Linked DNA regions of Homo sapiens: region 1 is linked to region 2. The links are contacts of gene promoters, found by promoter capture Hi-C in human tissues and cell types (Jung and others, 2019). All regions are on one chromosome and are shown on one strand. The core of a region is centred on a gene start or on the middle of the fragment in contact, and the rest is flanking DNA. Distances in the headings are between cores, read along the strand shown. Region 1 overlaps KATNA1 (katanin catalytic subunit A1). Region 2 holds the start of NUP43 (nucleoporin 43).

Region 1 (5,421 bases), core at 2,461-4,960, 140 kb before region 2:
CTAAAGTGCTGGGATTACAGGCGTGAGCCACCACGCCCGGCCAAATTCTAAATTTTAATGCTGTGTATTCAACTTTCCAAAGATCACATTGTATGTATTTCTTATTCTAGGAATCATGCAACAGCTTCTGGTCTAACAAAATTCTCAGTAGCACAACATATACCTTTTAATTTAAACATTTCCTGACTCCACTTTCTCCCTCCACTTTTCCCAATATAGATAAATATTGGCTCTCTGTATCAACATGCTGCCATTTACTTTGACAATGCCATCACAGTAATAAACTTACTTTCCATGGTCTCCTAATGCCCTTAAAGAATTCGGGCATCCACATTGGTAACACTACGGCTTCCTTAAGCAACTTTTTAGCTTCTACTAAATCAGCGATATCATCCCTGAAAGAGAAGACATTTTATTAACAACCCTTTAGATGATACATGTCTATGCAGTCACTCTTGAGAACCACTGGAAGCACATGATGTTGCACTGCTGACAGAATGGTGAGCCTCTCTCTGAGCCCGGGTGAACTAATGCACTGTGATGAGGCCCACCATGTCAACCAGCAGATATATAAAGAGCACAACCTTTTCTTCAGTTATTGGCGGTTGACAGTTTTTAGCCTGGATCACGAGAACATAGTCTACAGGCACACTCTTCAGGGTTATGTGTCAACTCATTTTAAACTCCTGCTCTTATGGTCCTCATTCCATAATCTCCATGATTTAGAAACAATGAGCCCATGTATTTTAAAACTAAAAAAAAGCATAAAGAATAAAAATCGTATAAAGCAGAGACAGGCTACAACATAGCTGCTTTGCCTCCAGCTTTACTAAGAGGTAGATGCCAAGGTTAAAGAGTATCACAGAGATTACTATAAAGTCATCTCCAACCACTAGAATACCTACTACTACTGCTACATGTGGCAATTTCTGTTAAAAAAAGTATTTTCATTGTATAAAATATTAATGTCCCCAATATTTTTTAATATCATTCAAACCCATACCTAATAATCATTAAGGTTTTAACAGAAATATAAAATACCTAACTTTGTGGAAAAGTTAACTTTTATAACTCATTGTAATACATTACAGATCTTTGATTACATGTAATATTAATCAAGTTGAGAACCACTGCTCTAAAAGAAAATAAAAGCAACATTTCTAGGATGCTATAGATAATAAGCAACACACATACATACAAATCATTGCCTTGGCCAGGTGCAAAGGCTCATGACTGTAATCCTAGCACTTTGGGAGGCTGAGGCAGGAGGATCACTTGAACCCAGGAGCTCAAGACCAGCCTGATCAAGACTCCATCTCTACAAAACATTTTTTAAAATTAGCTAGATGTGGTGGTGTGCACCTGTGGTCCTAGCTACTTGGAAAGCTGTGGCAGGAGGATCACTTGAGTCTAGGAGTTTGAGCCTGCAGTGAGCTATGATCGAGCCACTGTCCTCCAGCCTGGGCAATAAAGTGAGACCCTGTCTCTAAAAAACAAAAACAAAAACCTCAGACTCTCAGACAAAAATTGGAATAGGCTGAATGCAGGGAAGTCATGCTCACGCTGCACATACTCCGGTTCTGTCCTCAAGCTCTGCTCTTCAGTACATGCTCACATTTGCTCCATTTTCCATTCCGAATAGCATCACCAGCACCCAATTATTTGGTTGTGATATAACTTACCATCGAACATTGGGATTCTGGGAAATTATATCTCTTTCCAAAGCTTCTACTAAGTCTTTATCATATCCGGTACTATCAAATTTATTTGTCTCTGGTTCTGTTACTGCAGCAGGTGATTTGTTCTACATGAAGAGAAAAAAACAAGCGCTTTTGATTCATTTATTTTGTTTCTGTGAGTCGGAAACACAGATTGGACTCAAGTGACGTCCTTTAAAAAGCTAATACATCATTTGGCCAGGCGCAGTGGCTCACACCTGTAATCCCAGCACTTTGGGAGGCCAAGATGGGTGGATCACGAGGTCAGGAAATCGAGACCATCCTGGCTAACAGGGTGAAACCCCATCTCTACTAAAAATACAAAAAATTAGCCAGGCATGGTGGCGGCACCTGTAGTCCCAGCTACTCGGGAGGCTGAGGCAGGAGAACAGTGTGAACCCGGGAGGCAGAGCTTGCAGTGAGCCAAGATCATGCTACTGCACTCCAGCCTGGGTGACAGACCGAGACACCAACTCAAAAAAAAAAAAGGCTAATAATAATAATACAATAACAAGGATAGGACCAAAGACTCTAAGTCATCCTTCTACATCAACATTGGTTTGATACATCAAAAGTATCAAAGAAAAATAAAAATGACCATGCAAATGAACTGGCTAGCATAAAAAAATTAATACTGAGATAAATGTGGTCGCAAGTGAATATCAGATATACACAAAATGTATTTCAATCCTTTAGAGGAGATAAGATTAAAGACAGATGGCTTATTTAGCCAAGACTATGGCTCAATCTTTAAACACCTACTTGTCCCTCATCAATGCTCCTAAAAATATCCCTTTTCATTATTCCCACTACCCTCCAAAAGACACATCTCAGTCCTTACATGGGATTCCTCTCATCCTCTGTGATGACAGTCATTAGGGCCACGGTTCCCAAACTATGTACTCAATACCCAGGACACAATGGCAAACTCACGAGGTATTGTGGGATAGTTTAAATTTTTGAAAGAAACACAGCAACATCTGTTGAACACTGTGTGAACTACTAGCTAGAGGTAGTTCACGATTCCTACATAAGACTGCTATACTCCTCTTCAATAATGCTTTATTTATTTATTTATTTATTTATTTTTGAGCTAGAGTCTCACTCTGTCGCCCAGGCTAGAGTGTAGTAGTGTGATCTTGGCTCATTGCAACCTCCACCTCCTGGGTTCAAGCAATTCTCCTGTCTCAGCCTTCTGAGTAGGATGACAGGTGTGCACCACCACGCCCGGCTAATTATTTTTAGTGGAGATGGGGTTTCAGCACGTTGGCCATGCTAGTCTTGAACTGCTGACCTCAAGTGATCCGCCCACCTCGGCCTCCCAAAGTGCTGGGATTACAGGTGTGAGCCACTGTGTCCGGCCTGAATAATACCATATTTTTGTGAAGCTGGGTTTTGGGCAGTTGCTGTGATAAGATGTACAGAGAGAAAATCAATGTGGAAGAGGAATGAGGGTAGAATGTCCGTTCTGACTGCAGGGTTTGAGAAACTGTGTAACAGGGCCCAATAGGTGTTAAACTGCTAGAACATAAACTGTTTGAACCTAACTTCTTCATAAATGGATAGGTATTTTTCATAAGTGGATGGGTATCCTGGCCTAGAGATGCTATATAAAAATTACTAAGATACTTATGAATATTATAGGCCAAGAAAATTTATGAAGCCCTGCATTAGGGTAAATAAACATTTTTTCTGCCGTACTAAGATTGTTACCCAATTCCCATAACATTTTTTTTGCACGTAACATGATGATTCCTTTGCCAACTGGTGCTGTCTAATGCCATTATTAATGTCCAGACTTAACCAATATTTATGATATTCAAAATGTTAACCTAGATGGCCAAATAAGCATCAGTTCCACAATGTGTGTATTGAGCCTCCAATATTAGCATAAAAGATTCAAGGAAGGAACTGTGTAACTTTTTTTTTTTTTTTTTTTGAGATGGAGTTTCATTCTTGTTGCCCAGGCTGGAGTGCAGTGGCACGATCTTGGCTCACTGCAACCTCTGCTTCCCCGGTTCAAGCAATTCTCCTGCCTCAGCCTTCCGAGTAGCTGGGATTACAGACATGTACCACCATGCCTGGCTAACTTTTTATATTTTTAGTAGAGATGGGGTTTCACCATGTCAGCTAGGCTGGTCTTGAACTCCTGACCTCAGGTGATTTGCCCACCTCAGCCTCCCAAAGTGCTGGGATTACAGGGGTGAGCCACCACACCCAGCCAGAACTGTGTAACATTTAAAAGAGAAGAAGATAATCTTTTCTTCAAAGTATTTATAAAGTTGTTACTCATTTACAGATATTTAACAAGTATCTGTTCTGTGTTAGCAGCTATGGAGAACAGGAAAAGGACACTGTACCTGACTATCAGGAACATATACTGTAAGCCAGGGAAGATACAAATATAAGGCATTTTCTCTTTCTCTTTCTTTTCTCCCATAGAACACAGTACTAAGGGAATGTTCGCAGACAAAGCAAAACAAATTTAAGTAGGCAGAAGAAAGAAACAGTGTTGTAATAGGACAGCCAAAGAAAGCTGTGGAACTTCAAATGCTGACATATTTAATAGGATTTTACTTAATTAGTTGAAGTAGTACAATTTCTTTTAGATATACATCTATCTAATAATTTGCTCCTGGCCAGGTGCAGTGGCTCATGCCTATAATTCTAGCACTTAGGCTGAGGGGGGTGGATCAGTTGAGGCCAGGAGTTCGAGATCAGGCTGGCCAACATGGTGAAACCCCCTCTCTACTAAAAATACAAAAATATTAGCTGGGCATAGTGGTACATGCCTGTAGTCCCAGCTACTCAAGAGGCTGAGAGGAGAATCGCTTGAACCCAGGAGGCGGAGGTTACACTGAGCTGAGATTGCACTACTGCAGTCCAGCCTGGGCAACAGAACAAGACTCCATCTCAAATAAAAACAAACAATAACTTGTTCTAAGTGAAAACAGTAACCAGTAGGAAGTGGAAAAAAACAGTTGAGGGATTCAAAGGGACCTAGACTCCTTTTTTCATGCTCAAAATAAAGTTTCAGATAGACGGATTAATCAGGACATAAGTCCTTGGGTTTAAAACTAGTTCTTTTGCTGGGCTCAGTGGCTCACGCCTGTAATCCCAGCACTTTGGGAGGCAGAGGCAGGCAGATCACCTTAGGTCAGTAGTTCGAGACCAGCCTGGCCAACATGATGAAACCCCGTCTCTACTAACAATACAAAAATTAGCCAGGTGTGATGGTTCACACCTGTAATCCCAGCTGCTCGGGAGGCTGAGGCAGGAGAATCGCTTGAACCTGGGAGGCAGAAGCTGCAGTAAGCCAAGATCAGGCCACTGCACTCCAGCCTGGGCGACAGAGTGAGACTCCGTCTCAAAAAAACAAAAACAAAAACTAGTTCTTTTAAAGCTGGCAAAATTATAAATACAAAACCCATTACCTCAATTAAAAGAGTTAATTAAAAATGACAGCTGGGTTCTCATTTCCAGGAAGATGGAGCATACTTTTCAGCATTTCTTCTGCTAAACAGAGCTAAAACCCTTGGGTATTATACATACCACAAACACAGGAGGACTCTGAAAGGTGCAAAGAAGCCAGCAGAGCCACTAAGGAACTCAAACATGGTGTGAGTTCCCTGGGTTTTCTTTCTTTCAAATATCCAAACTTGGGGCTGAAGAGCCGGCAACCTGGATACGCCAATTTGAACAA
Region 2 (4,769 bases), core at 2,027-4,526:
AAAAACCCTTAACATGAACTGGGACTTATATTAACTAGGCATGTCTATTAGAAAAGGTTACCTTTGGCTGGGCGCGGTGGCTCACACCTGTAATCCCAGCACTTTGGGAGGCCGAAGAGGGCTGATCACCTGAGGTCAGGTGAGATCAGCCTGACCAACATGGAGAAACCCCGTCTCTACTAAAAATATAAAATTAGCCGGGCGTGGTGGCACGTGCCTGTAATCCCAGCTACTTGGGAGGCTGAGGCAGGAGAATCACTTGAACTCAGAAGGTGGAGGCTGCGGTGAGCCGAGACTGCGCCACTGCACTCCAGTGCGCGGGCAACAAGAGCAAAACTCCATTTCAAAAAAAAAAAAAATCACTTCTCAAACTAAAGTTCTTTACCTGGTTATTTGGATGGTGAAGGAAAACTGTTACACATCCTGTTGATGAAGCAGCGACAATTCTTTCCTGGTCAAAAAACTAAAGAGAAAATTTCTGCTTGTTAAAGATTCAGAAATATTAGCAGGGAGGAAGTCCATTTGTTTATTTAACTCAATTAGTAGCAAATCTTATAACAATTTTAAAAAGCAAAGAGCCATGAGTGCTAAGGAAATAAAATGTGTTAATGAAGCTGAAAGGCCAAACTGCCATACAAAGTATTTTCATGAATAAACAATATTTTTTCCTAGACACATTCACCCACAATTGATTTAATTTGGGACCAACACAATAAAACCTTAGGAAAATATTATTCCTGGCTGGGTGCAGTGGCTCACGCCTGTAATCCCAGCATTTTGGGAGGCCTAGGTGGACGGATCACTTGAGCTCAGGAGTTCAAGACCAGCCTGCGCAAGATGGCGAGGCCTCGTCTCTACAAAAATACAAAAATGAGTTGGGGTTGTAGGGAAGTGGAGGTTGCAGTGAGCCAAGATTGAGCCCCTGCATTCCAGCCTAGTTGACAGAGCAAGACTCAGTTTCAAAAAAAGAATAAAAATTTTAAAAAAGAAAAGCCAGGCACGGTGGCTGACGCCTGTAATCCCAGCACTTTGGGAGGCTGAGGCAAGCGGATCACGAGGTCAGGAGTTCGAGACCAGCCTGGCCAATACGTTGAAACCTCATCTCTACTAAAAATACAAAAATTAGCTGGGCGTGCTGGCATGTGCCTGTACTCCCAGCTACTCAGGAGGCTGAGGCAGAAGAATCACTTGAACCCACGAGGTGGGGTTGCAGTGAGCCGAGATCGAGCCACTGCACTCCAGCCTGGGTGACAGAGCAAGACTCGTCATAAAAAAGAAAAAAAAAAAAGGAAAGGAAAATATCGTCTGGGCATGGTGGCTCACACCTGTAATCCCAGCACTTTGGGAGGCCAAGCCGGGTGGACCACGAGGTCACGAGTTCAAGACCAGCCTGGCCAACATGGTGAAACTCCATCTCTACTAAAAATACAAAAATTAGCCAGGCATGGTGGCATGTGCCTGTTGTCCCAGCTACTCGGGAGGCTGAGGCAGGAGAATTGCTTGAACCCAGGAGGCAGAAGTTGCAGTAAGCTGAGCTCTCGCCACTGCACTCCAGCTCGGGTGACAGTATAAGACTTCGTCTCCAAAAAAAAAAAATGTATCTTTCCTAGAGCTAGATAGCTTTCTTTTTTATTTTATTTATTTATTTATTTATTTATTTATTATTATTATTTTTTGAGACAGAGTTTCGCTCTTGTTGCCCAAGCTGGCGCACTCTCGGCTCACTGCAACCTCTGCGCCCGGGTTCAAGCGATTCTCCTGCCTCAGACTCCAGAGTAGCTGGGATTACAAGCGCGCACCAGGGCTAGGTAGCTTTCTATGGAAAATGCAGGGGCTCTCCACACCAGGATTTGAAAACTTAATTTCGGCCGGGCGCCATGGCTCACTCCTGTAATCCCAGCACTTTGGGAGGCCGAGGCAGGCAAATCACCAGGTCAGGAAATAGAGACCATCGTGGCTAATATGGTGAAACCCCGTCTCTATTAAAAATACAAAAAATTAGCCGGGTATGGTGGCCTGCGCCTGTAGTCCCAGCTACCCGGGAGGCTGAGGCAGGAGAATCGCTTGAACCCGGGAAGCGGAGGTTGTAGTGAGCTCAGATCATGCCACTGTACTCCAGCCTGGGTGACAGAGCGAGACTCCATCTTGGAAAAAAAAAAAAAAAAGAAAACTCAATTTCATCCCCACCACTCATTACTGGTTTTGAGACTTTGGCCAAGTTAAGTTCACTAAATCGTGGTAAATCTTTAAAACGGGAGCACTAATCTCTACTTAGGGAGTTGTTATGAGAATTCAAAAAACAAAATGATGTTATCCCCCTGCACAGTATCTGTCACATAGTACATGCTCAAGATATATTAGTCTCAATTTTCTCATTAGTAAAACAAAGTAACGATACTTGATTCACTGGCATGCAACAATAATTAATTTTTGTAAAGCTCCCCAAACGGTATTTAGCACATAGTCGACAGTCAATTAATAAAAAAGTATGATTAAATCTACATCCCCTTTCCCAGTCCTTTTTCTGCCACTAAATGGCTAAATGATGTTGGGCAAATCATAACTTACAGAGCACTCAGTTTTCTGTAAACGAGGGGTGACACCAGACAACTTTTATGATGCTCTGCTTGTTTAAATGTATTACTCAGGACTTTCAAAGTTAGCTTTTGGATGCTACACAGATTTACCTGTAAATCCATTACATCACCATGGTGTCTGATATCACACAATAACTGATGGTCTCCTTCAAACCCTCCATCAGAGTCCAAGTTTCCAAAATCTCCAATAGACCACAGTGAAATATAATTTTCCTGTAAAACAGAAAGTTTTGTCTTGAGATGACATAAACGTCAACTCTCGGAAAATAAAAGTTGTGCTCCCGTCCGGAAATGTTGCTCCAAAACATCTCAAATGGTATGGTGAGTTTAAAACACAACGAGATACGAGGCTCAGGCATGCCATCACCGGCTCTGAGCTACGGAGCAACCGCGCCTGAGACAGGGGTCCGGGGGACCTAAAAGTGCGAGAAGAACCAGAAGGTGGGAGTTGGCGCGCGGAAGGCCAGGGGTCAGCTCAACCGGAGAGAGGGAGGAGGTAGGGGCTCGTCCCTATCAGCGGCGATACCTCATTGTCCCAAGATCCTGTAGCGAACGTCTCCGCGGTCTGTAAACTTCCCGGAGGCAGCGGTCGCCAGCGGGTTTTGCTGATTTTCTGGGACACAAACTTCGCATAAATTTCCTCCATGCCGAAAGCGGCCGCAGCAGGTACTGCAAAAAGCAAGCACAGTACGCGCCTCTCAGCACCGCCTCTTCCCGCGGAACCCTGATTGGATGGGACTTTAGGACGGAGACGGTGGCTGCAGAGAGTCAATTCTCGTCGATAGCCAGTGTGGGCACAGTCAGTACCTAGACTGAGAGGCCCACCCATCTCACAGAGCAGCTCTGAGCAAAGGCAAGAGCGCTTTGGCCTTTGAGCAGTAGGACTTGCTCCTAATCTGCAATGTCAGTATTTTCTTGTGTTCAATAATTGTGCAGTGTAAAATTTAAGTGCAAAAACAGAACAAAAACAATGCAGTAGAAACCACCTTGAAACCACACCTAAGCAGTTGCAGGTCACTGCGCATAGAAAACGATTCAAAAATCCTTAAATACTCGTGGAAGTACCTCGAATAAAGTGCCAACCTACTATCCCAAACCTCTCCCTCTTGTCTCCCAAACAAATACTTTGCTTCAAAGTTAATACACACTGTCAGAGCCTGGAGTTGGAATTCTGAAAGACTCCAGTTTTAGTTTTGATGCCAATTGCCTAGCTTTGATCAATTCAATTACGTGCATGATTAAGAATGAAGTTTGTGATACCTATTGTCAACGGCCCAGGAATCAGTTTTCTAGGTTCCTTCTGTGCTTTTGGTTACACCTATAATATTCTTCCCTTCCTCTTTACTCCTCAGAATCCTGCCTATCCTTCAAGGATCTGTTCTTTCCTTTACCATTTCCTGACGACCCCAGCCAATGTTGATCTAAATCAACACCATTTTTTTTCTTTTTTAAGACAGGGTCTCTGTGGCCCAAGCTGGAGTGCAGTGGTACAATCTCAGCTCACTGCAACCTCTGCCTCCGCCTCCCAGGTTCAAGTGATTCTCCCACCTCAGCTTCCAGGGTAGCTGGGACTACAGGTGTGCGCCACCATGCCTGGCTAATTTTTTTTTTTTTTTTTTGGAGAGACGGGATTTCACCATATTGGCCAGGCTGGTCTCGAACTCTTGACCTCAGGTGATCCAACTGCCTTGTCCTCCCAAAGTGCTGGGATTACAGGCGTGAGCTAGCATTTGATATCTAGACCACTAATGACATATATTTTGGATATATCTTATGTTAGTTTTCTTTAGATGCATATTCCTCCCCCATTAGAATGTAAATCCTACTGAATACAAGAGATATGACTTATTCAACTAAAAAATGAAGCTCTTTTACACTATAGGTATTCATAACTGTATGTTGGTTATTTCTTTAAAAAGGGCCATTATGCTACTGTTGTTTTTATGTGATATTGGTAGTCCTACTTCACAGGGACAGTTTACGGAAGCACTGCATGTAAATGCAATCCATCTGGGTCAGCTTTAGAGTTACCAGTTTCCTATCAAGGATTTGACTTTTTTCTTTTCTCCAAATGGAAGATCATCAAGAAACTGTAGAAAGATGAAATGGAAAATATTAAGTGGGTTACAGTCCCAAATCAACAATTTTATTCATGTTTAATATTGAAGTAAA

What was found. The method cuts DNA at HindIII sites, captures the fragments that hold promoters and counts their contacts. A contact is called where the count stands out against the background at its distance.
Region 1: a fragment that was not itself captured here is called in contact with the fragment with the promoter of NUP43 in region 2 in 1 of the 25 tissues and cell types used here (psoas muscle).

What each region holds. Positions count from the first base shown.
Region 1 is chr6:149,602,979-149,608,399 of GRCh38, forward strand. KATNA1 (katanin catalytic subunit A1) reads right to left here. Exons shown (of 11, transcript NM_007044.4): 5 at 1,683-1,804; 6 at 290-395. Among named protein-coding and RNA genes, the nearest start is that of GINM1, 39 kb to the left of the region's middle. The HindIII fragment of the contact is 6,159 bases long and covers 632-5,421 here.
Region 2 is chr6:149,743,253-149,748,021 of GRCh38, forward strand. It overlaps NUP43 (nucleoporin 43), which reads right to left and starts at 3,277. Exons shown (of 8, transcript NM_198887.3): 1 at 3,124-3,277; 2 at 2,688-2,810; 3 at 386-463. The coding sequence starts at 3,243. RefSeq lists an enhancer at 3,587-3,646. The HindIII fragment of the contact is 10,037 bases long and covers 1-4,769 here.